Linked DNA regions of Homo sapiens: regions 1, 2 and 3 are each linked to region 4. The links are contacts of gene promoters, found by promoter capture Hi-C in blood cells and fetal thymus (Javierre and others, 2016). All regions are on one chromosome and are shown on one strand. The core of a region is centred on a gene start or on the middle of the fragment in contact, and the rest is flanking DNA. Distances in the headings are between cores, read along the strand shown. Region 1 overlaps DIXDC1 (DIX domain containing 1). Region 2 overlaps NKAPD1 (NKAP domain containing 1). Region 3 overlaps ALG9 (ALG9 alpha-1,2-mannosyltransferase). Region 4 holds the start of SIK2 (salt inducible kinase 2).

What was found. The method cuts DNA at HindIII sites, captures the fragments that hold promoters and counts their contacts. A CHiCAGO score of 5 or more calls a contact.
Region 1: a contact is called between a fragment that was not itself captured here and the fragment with the promoter of SIK2 in region 4, in 1 of 17 cell types (erythroblasts). The highest score is 5.0, in erythroblasts.
Region 2: a contact is called between a fragment that was not itself captured here and the fragment with the promoter of SIK2 in region 4, in 1 of 17 cell types (non-activated CD4 T cells). The highest score is 6.1, in non-activated CD4 T cells.
Region 3: a fragment that was not itself captured here is called in contact with the fragment with the promoter of SIK2 in region 4 in 16 of 17 cell types (erythroblasts, naive B cells, M2 macrophages and 13 more); the score reaches 8.9 in erythroblasts.

Annotation. Positions count from the first base shown.
Region 1 is chr11:112,021,957-112,025,176 of GRCh38, reverse strand. It overlaps DIXDC1 (DIX domain containing 1), which reads right to left. Exons shown (of 20, transcript NM_001037954.4): 20 at 2,524-3,220. Among named protein-coding and RNA genes, the nearest start is that of DLAT, 1.8 kb to the left of the region's middle. RefSeq lists an enhancer at 618-807. The HindIII fragment of the contact is 1,386 bases long and covers 558-1,943 here.
Region 2 is chr11:112,080,591-112,084,201 of GRCh38, reverse strand. NKAPD1 (NKAP domain containing 1) reads right to left here. Exons shown (of 6, transcript NM_018195.4): 5 at 2,167-2,220; 6 at 1-1,737. The coding sequence ends at 1,230. Among named protein-coding and RNA genes, the nearest start is that of TIMM8B, 4.4 kb to the left of the region's middle. The HindIII fragment of the contact is 696 bases long and covers 1,071-1,766 here.
Region 3 is chr11:111,857,949-111,861,137 of GRCh38, reverse strand. ALG9 (ALG9 alpha-1,2-mannosyltransferase) reads left to right here. Exons shown (of 15, transcript NM_024740.2): 5 at 503-591. Among named protein-coding and RNA genes, the nearest start is that of ALG9, 12 kb to the left of the region's middle. The HindIII fragment of the contact is 1,599 bases long and covers 1,114-2,712 here.
Region 4 is chr11:111,601,041-111,604,707 of GRCh38, reverse strand. SIK2 (salt inducible kinase 2) reads right to left here and starts at 2,259. Exons shown (of 15, transcript NM_015191.3): 1 at 2,010-2,259. The coding sequence starts at 2,144. RefSeq lists silencers at 1,494-1,653, 2,204-2,643 and an enhancer at 2,734-2,873. The HindIII fragment of the contact is 10,147 bases long and covers 1-3,667 here.

The DNA.
Region 1 (3,220 bases), core at 1-2,500, 420 kb before region 4:
CATCCGAAAGGGTGAGACGGGGCCTAAGAGATGACAAGGGCACGACCGAGGGGGAGGGGCCTAAAAAGGCGCAGAGACGCGGGTTAATTGCGGCCGAGTGGCCTGAGAGTCTGGGCCGAGGGGCGTGGCCAAGCTTTCTGGAAAAGCTGGAAGTGAGCCCGGGAACTGGCTAGGGCAGTGGGAGCCTCAGGCCAAAGGGCGGGGGTCTTGGAGTGCTGGGGTGGTGAAGGAGCCAGGAATCGCCCGCGAGGGAATCGAGGGGTCCGGCGTGGTGACCTCTGCTTCTGCGCATCCGAAGGGGGATGGACTGGGCCGCGCCCCGCGCAGGCTGTACTGGTTGCAAAGATTTCGTTTCAGGTTTGTAGCCCAAGTGGAAAGTGGAGTGAACAGGTGTTCCACCCAGCCAAGTGGTAACGAAAGGCAGCCCAGAGGAAGATACATTCCCGCATTCATGTATACTGTAGCAAGATTAAGCATATTCCCTGTATGAAGATATAGGTTTACAAAACAGGTGTTGCTCCCTAATACCATAGAATTCTTTTAAGTAACCAAAAGCTTCGTTATGTTTCAAATGTTTGAAAAACTTAACTGTAAGCCGTTGAAGGCATGAAGAGTGTCTGCGTGGTCCTTCCATGTAGCCCCAGAGCTTAATATCCAGTAAATAGCGGGGGCTGAATGTATGTCTTTTGAATCAATGAATAAAAAGTCATCTACACATTTTGTTAGGCACGCTTCTCTTGTAAAGTTGTCTTTTAATTAGAAAACATATCGTTTCTGAACTGAAGGTGACATTAGATAAGGAGGAAGCATGTGCTGTGTATCACCACCTCCCCCCTGTAGAGATGGTTAGAGAACACCAAGAACGCAAGAGGAAGTTGGAGGGAAGAAACTTAAAACAAGATTTTAGCCAGGAGCGGTGGTGCATGCCTGTAGTCCCAGCAATGCTTGAGAGGCTGAGGTGGGGGAATCACTTGAGCCCAAGAGTTTGAGACCAGCCTGGGCAACATAATGAGACTCCCATCTGTTAAAAAAAAAAAAAAATGGGGGCTAATCTTGCTAACAATTAATTTGGAAAACTAAAACAGATTGGATGTACTATTTCATGCCTACTTAAATTGGAATGTTTAAGCAGGTACAGCTGTCTATCAGAATAATATGTAAGCAATATAATTGAGAAATATAAAATTTCTAGATTGAATGAAAAGGCATATTTTAAATAATATGAAGAGAGCAATTATATTGTTACAATTATGTACAACTTATGAATTAACAATTGGAAGAAGCAATGAAAGAATAATTGTAATTACTGAAAGGACTTATTACTATTATTTGGGGATGGAGTCTCACTCTGTCGCCCAGGCTGGAGTGCAGTGGCATGATCCCGGCTCACTGCAACCTCCACCTCCCAGGTTCAAGCGATTCTCCTGCCTCAGCCTCCCGAGTGCTGGGATTACAGGCACGTGCCACCATGCCCAGCTAATTTTGTGTTTTTAGTAGATACGGGGTTTCACCATGTTAGTCATGCTGGTCTCAAACTCCTGACTTCAGGTGATCCACCTGCCTCGGCCTCCCAAAGTGCTGAGATTACAGGCGCGAGCCACCATGCCCGCCCAGGACTTATAAATTATTATAAAAATGTTTTTGAGTTGGCTAAAATATCTTGCTGCTTTTGCTGCATTTGAACTTAATAACTGGATCTAAATTAGACTTTGGTATAAAGTATGAGGTGATCTTCCGGATCTGTTGTGCACTTAGGTATGCTTGCTTAAACCCTGTTTTGCATTTTTCAAAGAATAGCGAGTTTGTGTCTTGAATATACTTTTGACTTAAGTGTAGTTAAATTATAGGAATGCATAGCTCAAACAGTCCAGAGATGGCGAGCTTACCCCAGAGGTGGGCTAGGAATGCTTAGGTTTCTCAAATCAGTCCTGAGAGAACAAGCTTGAATTCCACTAAACAGACTGGATAAAGGAAATTATGGAAAAGGAGACTCAAGACTCAAAGGTTTGAAATAGAGATACTTAAGAGAATGGTGATATCACTGATATTGAGAGAAACAGAAATTAGTTGGTAGTGAAAGATTTTGAGTTATGTACATATTTAATTTTAACATAATGGGATAGCCAATTAATAGTTGAAAATACGTAATTGGAAGTCAAATGAAGGCACTCAGGGATAAAGAATTTAATATAGCAAACATTTAAGATGAATTGATAAGAGGCATTTAAGAGGCAGCTTTCAAATGATCTGGGAATTCTGGTCATTTTAAATACACATTTCTGAAAGAGTTCTTAATGCTTGCATACTGACTTTTGTCATAGAGTTTATACTCTTGGGTTCTTATTTGTTTGCATGTTTACATATAATTTCAAAATAAGTGCTAAATAAATTGTCCTTGATAATAGCCTATGTGCTTACATAGAAATACTAATTGTAAAATATCTGTAGCAATAAAGTAATTCTTATCTCCACTCCACATAGTGAGTAAACATGCTACCAGGGAGATCACTTGAGGAAATTTGCTTTCACTAAATGTAAATGGCTTTATTGATTAATCTCATCAGTAAACGCAAGTGAAAATCATTAATGATATTTAGTTTGCAAACCCCATTTTATTCATAGTTTGTGGTTTTTTAAATTAGTTCACAAATCTGGTACATACCGGCAGTTAAAACTGGTTATCACTTTGATAATCAGAAGCCTCTGGTGTAACATAGTCTTCATGAAAACATATTGTAAAACAGGGAGAATACACAGTAATAATCTCTTTGAAAGCAATGGCTGTAAACATCCATGTTTCTAAGAAAATATAACTTTACATATATATGTATTTTAAGCAAGCTATACCTCTTACATAAATTCAGACAGTAGAAGGAGTGTGCAATCATAATGCTTATTTTATGGAAACAGTGAAAATAATTTTAATTATGACCTAAATGCTTTTAAGTAATTAAAGTCCTCTTGAATTGGATGTATAGTATAAAGATATTTTCCCTAATTTGCAACCATCCTGGTCAAAAAGAGCTGAAAAGTTGGTCAGTAAGTAGAAGTGCCATTACCAAGTAAGTTTAAAACAAATTCTTCAAATTTAAAAATGTAAAAATTGTAAAGTATCCCAATCCCCCCAGCTAATTTAGGGAACTGAGCAAGAAGAGAACATTCTTCAGTTTTTAAATGACTTTTTTTTTTTTTTTTTTGGAGATGGGGTCCTGCTCTGTAG
Region 2 (3,611 bases), core at 169-2,668, 480 kb before region 4:
GGAAGGTGAACTTACCTGCTCTGGGCCTCCTCATAACCAATGAGTGGCAGAACCAAGACCGAAAGTCTGAGTTTTCAAGCTTTTTACTCAGCCCATTAAGTGACAACCAGGAAAAAATAATACGTCACTTGATCTTTCTTCCCACAGTGAAAAAATGCACTTGCGTTCTGCCAGCCTTCTTTCAGTGATATGTTGGTTTCTTAAGAATTAACATACTAAGGATCACAGTATAGCAAAGGGAATTAATGTGGTCTCTGCTTGGTGCTTTAATCCAAAGGCAGACTGGGAAGAAGTGGATATGTCCCTGAGAAGCCTGTTTCATTTTGGAAATAATTCAACTTAGTTTCAGGGAAAACCTAAACTTCATGAACAGATTTAGAAATGAACAAGACAACATTTAAATGGCAGTTGCTGCCCTGAATCCAGAGTACCATTAGACAACATGATTATTTCCTAATTCTTCCCCATTTGGTACAGGATTATCTATGACAATTGAAGAAATAATTTGAACACAAGTCCATTTAGGCAAATATACAGCAATGGAACTAGAAAACCATTTACTATCCAATTACCATGTTTAGGCATATACTAAGTATAGCTATAGGCCCCATCCAGCAGGGAAATTTGCAAAAACTCTAGTCCCTTCTAATAAGTTGTCTATGGATGTTATCATGAAGGGAAAAGGTTTGTTCTTAGGCCCATGTCCTGATTAAGTAAACCGGACCACACCTGTGGGGTCAAAATATAGAAGGATCAAAGCACCAAGGCTAAAGACAAGTTAGTTGTGACACCTGCTATATAAACAGAGAGCAATACAGTGTTGCCTTGTCATACCATCCTACATGGCATTAGTTCCAATCCACCTCTTGATCCCAGCCCTTGACTTCCCCAAATTCAATATTCCGATTGGTGTACCCAGGTCACTATTGGATCCAGCTTTCTGGGTCCTTTAATTTGCTGTATATGCACTCTACACTAAACGTAATTAATTGCAAAAAAAAATAATCTCTTCAAGAAACCTTCATAACAAAATACCAGATTCCCTTTTAACAAGAAAAGGGGATCAAGCTTAACGCCAAAATAGAAGACAAGACGTCTGTCAGAACATACAGATGGCACAAGACAGCTCTGACCTCAGGCCCCGTGCTGAACAAGAGTCACTGGCAAAACCACAAGGAGTAAGAACTGTAAATATCCACAGTCATGTGGAAAACAAAAGTGTTTCCCATTTAGTCATCCTCTGAGCTCTCAGCAGACCTTTCATCTGTAGCTACTTTCCAATTTGTGCGTTTGTTTGTCCTCTCCTGTATTTCATTGTTGGCTACAGAGGTATGGGCTTTTTTCTCTCTCTTTTTCCTTTTGGTTTTCTTAGTGTCTCTTTCCTCACTTTCCTCAGAACTGCTGGATGCTGAATCATCTGAATGTGAAGTGTTACTTTCTGCCTCTAAGAATAAAGCAGGTTTTTTGAGAGACTTTTTCCTGGATTTTTTCTTGCGTTTATGTGGTTGTTTCCCTTTCCTTGTACCAGAAGCCCCAGTTTCTTCTGAGAACTCACTCGAGGAATCTGCTGTTATATCTGTGGCTTCCTTTTTGCTTTTCTTCTGTTTTTTGTGTGACCTTTTTTTCTGCTTTTTTTTGTGGGATTTCTTTGACTTCTTGTGTTTGCGGGATTCATGGGTAGATGACTTTACCTGGGGAGATGTTTTCTTCCCGTTGGTAATATCTTGCTGATCACTACTAATAAGAAAAGTTAAAAAATAGAAGCTTTTATGTAAAAAAAAAGCGTATTATTTTAATATTTTGCATTCTAGATTAAAAAATTGAGGTTAACATCTGAATTTTAAATAAGCACTTTAATGTATACTTTAACACTTTAATATTCTCATTGAGTTTTTGTTTCCTCATCTTTAAAATGAAGGTAAAAATTCTAAGCTGCCATACTGAGTTACTGTATGGAATACTATATATAAAAACCAAAATGCTTACAGACATGCCAAACATCAACCAGAGAATGGGAAAACAGGGATCACCTCCTAACTAAATCACCTATTGTTTCTCTAGCTACATTTTTGATGGCAAGTATATTCTTCGTAAAAGTTAAGAAATCAATTTATAATACAGATTTTGTACCATCTTAGTTTCTTTCAGTAAGCCTATTTTCCTTACCTGTCTGTTTCAAATTCTTCAGGGTATAACTCTTTATAACCACTGTGACCCCATCTGTAATATGACACATCACATGTATTGTTAAAGCAATGCATACATTTTTGGAAATTAAAGCAACATTAGAAAGACTTTGGAGTACATGCATACACAAACATAAACACAAAGTAGAGATATGGTAGAACCAAGCCCCCATTATAGCTCAGTAACAGCTACATTTCCTGTACTGTACACTATCACTTCAGACATACAAGATTATTTTGTCCATTTGTAAGAGAACTTGCCATTGCTTTCCTTAAGAAACACTAACGAACTCTTACACTCTGCTCTTTAGCTATGAAGCACTTTTCCAAAAACACTTCATAATATCATGCTGTCTACATGGGGACAATTTTTTTTTTTTTTTTTGAGATGGAGTCTCACTCTTGCCCAGGCTGGAGTGCAGTGGCGTGATCTCAGCTCACTGCAACCTCCGCCTCCCGATTTCAAGTGATTCTCCTGCCTTAGCCTCCCGAGTAGCTGGGACTACAGGCACATGCTACCATGCCTGGCTAATTTTTGTATTTTTAGTAGAGATGGGGTTTCATTATGTTGGCCAGGCTGGTCTCAAACTCCTGACCTCATGGATCTGCCCGCTTTGGCCTCCCAAAGTGCTGGGATTACAAGCATGAGCCACCGCGCCCAGCCTTATTATTATTTTTTTCTTTTTTTCTTGAGACAGAGTCTCACTCAGTTGCCAGGCTGGAGTGCAGTGGTGCAATCTCGGCTCAACTGCAACCTCCACCTCCTGGGTTCAAGTGATTCTCCTGCCTCAGCCTCCCGAGTAGCTGGGACTACAGGCGCATGCCACCACGCCCGGCTAATTTTTGTATTTTTAGTAGAGCTGGGGTTTCACCATGTTGGCTAGGATGGTCTCAATCTCTTGACCTCGTGATCCGCCCGCCTCGGCCTCCCAAAGTACTGGGATTACAGGCATGAGCCACAGCACCTGGCCTATTTTTTTTAAATAACAACTTTATTGAAGTATAATTCACATATCATGGCATTCAAAGTGTAGTGCCTCCAGCCCAGGGCAATCACTAATCTGCCTTCTGTCTCTATGGAATTGCCTACCACATAAATGGAATCATACAGTTATGTATGGACATAGTACATAAATAGAATCATACAATATGCGGTCTTTCGTGACTTGGCTTCTTCCTTCTCACTTAGCATGATGTTTTCAAGGCCACGTTGTAACATGTATCTGTACTTCATTTCTTTTACTGCCAAATAATATTCCATTGTATGGATATATCGCATTTTGTTTACCCATTCATCAGTTGACAGACATTTGGATTACTTGGCCATTATTTTTTGGGGCCATTATTAATAATGCTGGTATGAACTTTTGTACACAAGTTTTTTGTGGGGACAATTAATTTTGATAAGTACACGTTCTCAGGCCA
Region 3 (3,189 bases), core at 664-3,163, 260 kb before region 4:
AGCCTTTTTTTCTGACAACTACCATTTATTGAGCAACTATGTGCCAGGCACTCTCCTAAGCACTTTTCCTTGCATTGTCCTCACAGAAACCTTACAAAGTTTGTATTATTATCATTATTTTATGCTTGAGGAATCAGACAGAGACATTATTCAACCAGAGTAGGGTTCCACTGCTAGTAAGTGGCAGAGCCAGAATTTGAATGTGTGCCCACCTGTATCTGAGGTCTATTATTTTTCACCACATCATTCTATTTTCCACTTGATAGATATAATCTTAGCATGTAAAGAATACATTTTCTTTTAGGTAGGGAGCTTCTCTTCTGTGTCAGAAATAAGAATGTTTGGGTTTCTTATGCACAGTGAATTGCTAACAAACCTGACAAGGTAGTTTTGTGTTTGACTTTAGATCTTCAGTGTTATCTGTGGTACGTGTTTTTCTCCTTTGATTTGAAATGTCTATTCCTAATATTCTCAATGCTGATAGTCTTTGCCTTTTTCCTAGGGCTGTGTGCAAGAAGTTTGGGTTGCACGTGAGTCGAATGATGCTAGCCTTCTTGGTTCTCAGCACTGGCATGTTTTGCTCATCATCAGGTAAGTAAAAGGGCAGATGAGGGAATTGCAGGTCATCACCAGGTAAGTAAAAGGGCAGATGAGGGAATTGCAGGTTCACCAATAGTTCACAGTTGCATTTAAAGGAAGCATTTGTCCAAATGTAGGTTATATTTGTAGAACATGTCAATAATTTGCAGAGCACTGTTATCTACATTATCTTGATTGACCTTTGTAACAATCCTACCATGTAAGTAAGAAAAACATTTTCTCACTTTTGCAGGTAAGGACATTGAAACGTAGATGAAATGATTTACTAAAAGTCAAAATTCATAAATGGTAGAGCTGGTAGTCTCACCAGGATGTTTTCTATTCCATTCTTGCATCAACCACCCACCTCCTTTCTTGGCCATTAGTGGAAAGAAAGTAATTCTTTTATTTTGTTTAAAGAAGTTATTTGTACATAAAGACCTGTTGTTGATGATTCTGTTTTCTACTGATGATACATTATTTGATATGTATTCTATGTGCATCTTCTGCTGGGCTTTCTTTTAATAATAAGCTTCTGGAAATTTAGAATAAAAACCTCACTCTAGAGCATTGGCTTTCAGACTGTTCTGCCATTGAACATTTGTGTTGTATAAGCTGAATCAAGTTGGTCCACTGCCAAATGGTAGTCTATTCCCAGTTCTCCAGAAAAATTAAGTTACTGGATATAATTGTCTCAATTTTAGTTTCTGCTTGTGTGTACCAGGATCTAGTATATACAGAGTATACACAAAAACATAGTATCTGGCACAAAATTATATGCTTACTTTTCCCTTATTGAATATATCAAAATTGATGTTGTTCTGCAGAGATGTCAGGGCTGTACTCCAGAGTGACTTTGAGAGCCTGTCCTAAATGCATCTGTGCTCTACCCTCAGATTCCTCTGCCCCCTTTGTCCTCTACACTGCAGCTGGAACTGACAGCTTTGGATGGCATCATTATTATTTGACATTTATTGGTAAAGGGTGTACCTCAGATGTTTTTTAAGTTGCTTTCCTACTACTTTTTTTCTTTTCTTTTCTTTTCTTTTTTTTTGAGACAAGAGTCTCGCTCTGTTTGCCCAGGCTGGAGTGCAGTGATGCCATCTCGGCTCATTGCAACCCCCTCCTCCCAAGGTTCAAGCGATTCTCTTGCCTCAGGCTCCTGAGTAGCTGGGATTACAGGCGTGCACCACCACGCCCAGCTAATTTTTTTATTTTTAATAGAGATGGGGTTTCACCATGTTGGTCAGGCTGTTCTCAAACTCCTGACCACGTGATCCACCCGCCTCAGTCTCCCAAAGTGCTGGGATTACAGGTGTGAGCCACCGCACGTGGCCTCTTTTCTTTTCAAGTGCAAGGTCTTGCTCTTCACCTAGGCAGGTTAGAGTGCAGTGGCACAATCGTAGCTCACTGCAGCCTTGAATTCCTGGGCTCTAGCAGTCTTTCCACTACAGCCTCCCAAGTAGCTAGGACTATAGGCATGCATCACCATGCCTGGCTAGTTTTAAAGTTTTTTGTAGAGATGGAGTTTCACTGTGTTGCCCAGGCTGGTCTCAAACTCTTAGCCTCAAGCAGCCCCCCACACCTTGGCCTCCCAGAGTACTGAGATTAAAGACATGAGCCACTGTGCCTGGCCTGCTACTCCTACAATTGATCTTTATATGTAGAAAATTCCTTAGAATATCTTTAGTTTTGTAATCTCATTTGAGACACAGATAAGTTGAAGGCATCTTTTCATACAGAGCCTCTGAACCCTTTGCTGAGTTTAAAAAAACCTCACTGCCTATTAATTGTGGTTGTTTTGTAGTTGATACTGATTTTTCTTCCCTACTGATTCAGACTTTCTGCAGCAGAAGAGGCAGATCTGCATTTTTGTTCAGAGTTACTAGAAACACTTTAATCAATTGTTTCTGTTCCAGAGACCCTGTACTCTGTCCTCTGCTGTATAAAACAAGGTTGAGGTAGATGGAACTAATTAGGGGGCTATTTAAAGGCCAGATTATCTGTGTCAGCAGGTGGAGAGTGCAAAGCATTGCTGCCATACAATATCTGGCCCTTGAGGAGGCTTTCTAGAATTTCCGGGGCTAGAGGTTAGGACCAGGACAGTCTCAGAGGACCAATGGAAGATAAGCTTCTTCAGAAGTAAATTGTCAGCAATGGCTCTAAGTCTTTTAAAGCATATTCCCTTCCTGGAAATATAATCATGGGGTGTTCCTGGGGAGCGTGGAATTCTATGAGTTTTTGATTTGAGGTGTAGGCTGGGAGAGGAATTACATGGTTAGAATTGTATAATTGGGTTGGTACCTAAAAAAACAGGAAGGAGAGGCCAGGTGCGGTGGTTCACGCCTGTAATCCCGGTACTTTGGGAGGTCGAGACAGGCAGATCACGAGGTCAAGAGCTCGAGACCAGCCTGGCCAACATGGTGAAACCCCGTCTCTACTAAAAATACAAAAATTAGCTGGGTGTGGTGGCACGTGCCTGTAATCCCAGCTACTCGGTAGGCTCAGTCAAGAGAATCGCTTGAACCAGGGAATCAGGTTGCAGTGAGCTGAGATCCCACCACTGCACTCCAGCCTGGTGATAGAGCAAGACTCCGTCTAAAAAAAAAA
Region 4 (3,667 bases), core at 1,010-3,509:
TACTACACACACGATTTAGGATCTAAGTCCTCTTTCACGATCTGACCGGTGCTTGTTCCAATTACAAATGAATGCATTGATCTCACTCTGATAGCCAAACCACGGTATTACTCCATAGTGCCCCCTAGCTCTTTAAGATATATTAGTTTAAAACGGACACCATTTGAATTGTCAACCTCAAAGTGTCAATCACTCCACTTAAGCAGCTCTTACTGTATTAACTAAATTTGACCTGATAAATAATAGATGACTTAATTAAATCTTGCTATTAATCCCAGTAAGAGCTGATGAGAAAAAAATATTAAGAACTGATGGATTTGGAATTCAACCACACGATATACTACAGTTCAAAAGTTTTGTAGAACCTCTCTATAACTCACAATTTGTTTGTTTTTAGAAAGTCATTAAGCAAGGACTCATAAAACATGCATTTAAAATGCCTTCTTTTATGTAACTTAAAGGGAAATGGCATGGCATAGGCCATGGCTCTTCAGAGGAATGGAACCAATTTCTTCATTTTAAAAAATGCTGGGATCAGATTAAGATTTAACAATATCACTATAGTCAAGTTATCATTATCATTACAAACAATCTAAATTGCTAACTGGTAAATCTGTGAGAAGAAAATATCTGACCTTGGTCCTGATTCTAAAAGATAAGTCAGATTTGGACTGGTTCAGGACCAGCAGGGGAAGGCAAAAAGTAAAGAAGACAGAATGACATATACCCCTTCCTTTTGGAAACGGGATTAAGCAAAACTTCTAAGTACAACTGCAACTCCAAAAATCACTCACGTTTGCAAGTGCCCTTCGCCTTACATAAGTCATTCTGAAAAGAAGTCCTACTTTATTCTACACTCAAACTCCAGTACATTCGTACTAACAAGGGAAAAAGCAGAATAGGACCAAAACTGGAGGGCAAACAAACAGGAAAAGGATGAAACTCCAGGAGGAACTACAATAAGGCAGAGTAGAGTACGTCAAAACCACTAGGTTTTATTCTAAAGAATGGTTTTGTTTCTACCGTTCTTCTAAGGTATTTAATTTGCACGTCTTAAAATAGAGACCCTGAGGAGAGCAGCTTGAGGCAGTGGAAGGAAGGGGGGCGGGTTAGGTAAGAACAGAGACTTGTGAGAGAGTATGTGCGGTGCATTAGAATGTGCAATGAAGAGGGTGCAGGATTCACCGTCAGGAAGCAGTTGAGGGCTTTATGAGTAGAGGCAGAATCTGATATGGTTTAAAGAATGCGTATTACAGCCAGAATGCACACCTGGTACAGTGACAACCCTAGACAAGTAGAAGACCAATCCACCCACCGTGCAAATGCAGAGATGACCATTTTAACCAGTTCTATTGTCTGGGGCATTAAATGGAAATGCCCCAGGCAAGAGATCAAGCTAGCCAGACACCAAATCAGAGACACCCTGGGCCAAAAGGAAGGAGAGGAGATGGACAGTGGCCGTGGGGGTATTCCCAGCCATGGGGCCCTTCCTCGTCGGGCAGGGGAGGGGCGCCGGGGTCACGGGGGCCGCACGATCCCCCATCCGCGGAGCCCAAGCGCAGGCGGTCCCCTCCTCGGGCCGGCGACGTCTCTCACGGCGCAGCCTGGGAACACCGAGACTTCCCCTCCCACCCCACCCCCAGCCGAAAGCAGGGAAGACGCGGAACTTGGGCTCCGGAGCGGAGGCCACAGACCAGGTCACGGCCCGGGTGGGGGGCTCTGGGCGAAATTCCGGGTGGCCACCGGGGGTGGCGTAGGGGAAAGCAAAGCCCCGGCTGGTTGCGTTTCCAGTCGGACGACACTCGGGTCCGGGTGCCCGGGCCCGATCCCTTCGCTGCTCACCGACCCCCTGCACCTCCTGGGTCCTCACAGTCCCAGGCCCGCTCGCCTCCGCCAGTGAGGCGGCCTCTCGGGTCTCCCCGGTCCCACCACTGCGGCCGCCCCTCTCGGTAAGCAGCTCCTCTCCCGAACCCTCGCCTCGGACGCTCCCGCCGAGCCCCGGGCCGCACCTCCGTCTTGGTGATCCGGTGCCGCCCCAGCTTCACCACAGCGAAGTTGCCCTTGCCCAGCGTGCCCTCGATGTCGTAGAACCCCACCCGGACCGGCCCGCGCTGCAAGTGCCTCGGGCCATCCGCCATGACCATGCTGGGCCCCGCTGCTAGACACGGCGGACAGGAGCGCGGGCGGGCGGGAGGGTTGGCAGCGCGGCTTGGCTTGGGCGACGGCCGCTCCGCTTGCTCCTTCGCTCCTTCGCTCCTTCCCTCCCGCTCCCCAGGGCCCAGCCAGGCGCGCGCCGCCGCTGACGTGCGCCGACGTCAGGGGGCCGGGGCAGGGGGGCGGGGGCGGGCCCGAGCCTGGATTGGTCACCATGGCGACCGAAGCACCGCCGACGTCGGCTGCTGGAGAGTGGGGGACGGCGCACGGGGAGGGGCGCGAGCCTGGCCGGCGCGCTCCTTCCGGGCTCAGACGCCCTCCCCTCGCCCCTCCGCCTCACCGCTGCCAGGGGCGGGGTCGCTGCTCGGCCCGCTCCGTTCCTCGGCCTTCCAGGCGAAGGGCAAGAGCGAGCCCTGGCGGACCGTGCGGAGGGGTGCAGAGACCTGGATGCGGCCTGCGATCTCCTTCCCCGCCCCGGCGTTCTCCGCCCACCCGGGGTCCTTCCCGCCAAAACCTCTCACCTACAAGTACAGCGCGTCCTAAATTTGGCACCGGCAAAGAACTGTGGCTGAGCAATGCGTTGCTCACAGGCTCCTTTCTTTGTGTCCTTTTCTCTTCTCGTTGCTATATATAATAAAACCCTCCACGTTTTGATGTCTCCGAGGAGTCATTCTGACAGCAGTGCAGTCGCTTATAGACTCACAGAATGTCAATGTCAGCGCTGAAGAGATCTTGGAGATCACTTAATCCAGAGATTTGGAGCCTCATGTGAGCTTCAGAGTTTGGAACCCCCTAAAACACAGGCCAGTTTTTGCTTATGTGAGCATGTCTCTGGGGAGATGGACCCGTAGCTTCTGTCAGATTCCCAAACGCGTTGGTGACTCTGAAAAAGTTTAGAAATATTTCTCTAATCCAATTTTTTTCCCCAAAGGACGAAGAAGACCTCAAGGAATAAAGGGAATTGCCTAGGTCACACAGGCAATAGTCGAGGTAGGATTATAAATCACACCACGCTTCCAAATGTGACTCAAGGAAACAGGGACAGTGACACCTCACTATTTTGAGATGTATCATATGCCTTTATATCTTGGTTTCTAAATACCATTCTCCACCTAAAGGAGCCAGACTCCGTGGCGAGATGGCTCATTCGAGGGCAGAGACAGGGAAAGTATAAAATGCCCTTGAAAGATCCTGCTCCTTAAAGCAAGGAGATTTCTTGGCTATGTCAAGGAAGATATGTCAAAAGAAAGCAGATGGCTCGAAGGTGCTCCCCCCTTACCAAATCTGAGACAGTTTGAGTATCAGGAATAAATAATGGGCCGGGCTTAGTGGCTTACGCCTGTAATCCCAGCACTTTGGGAGGCTGAGGCGGGTGGATCACCTGAGGTCAGGAGTTCAAGACTAGCCTGTGTGAAACCCCATCTCTACTAAAAATGCAAAAATTAGCCGGGCGTGGTAGTGGGCGCCTATAATCCCAGCTACTCGGGAGGCTGAGGCAGGGAGAATTGCTTGA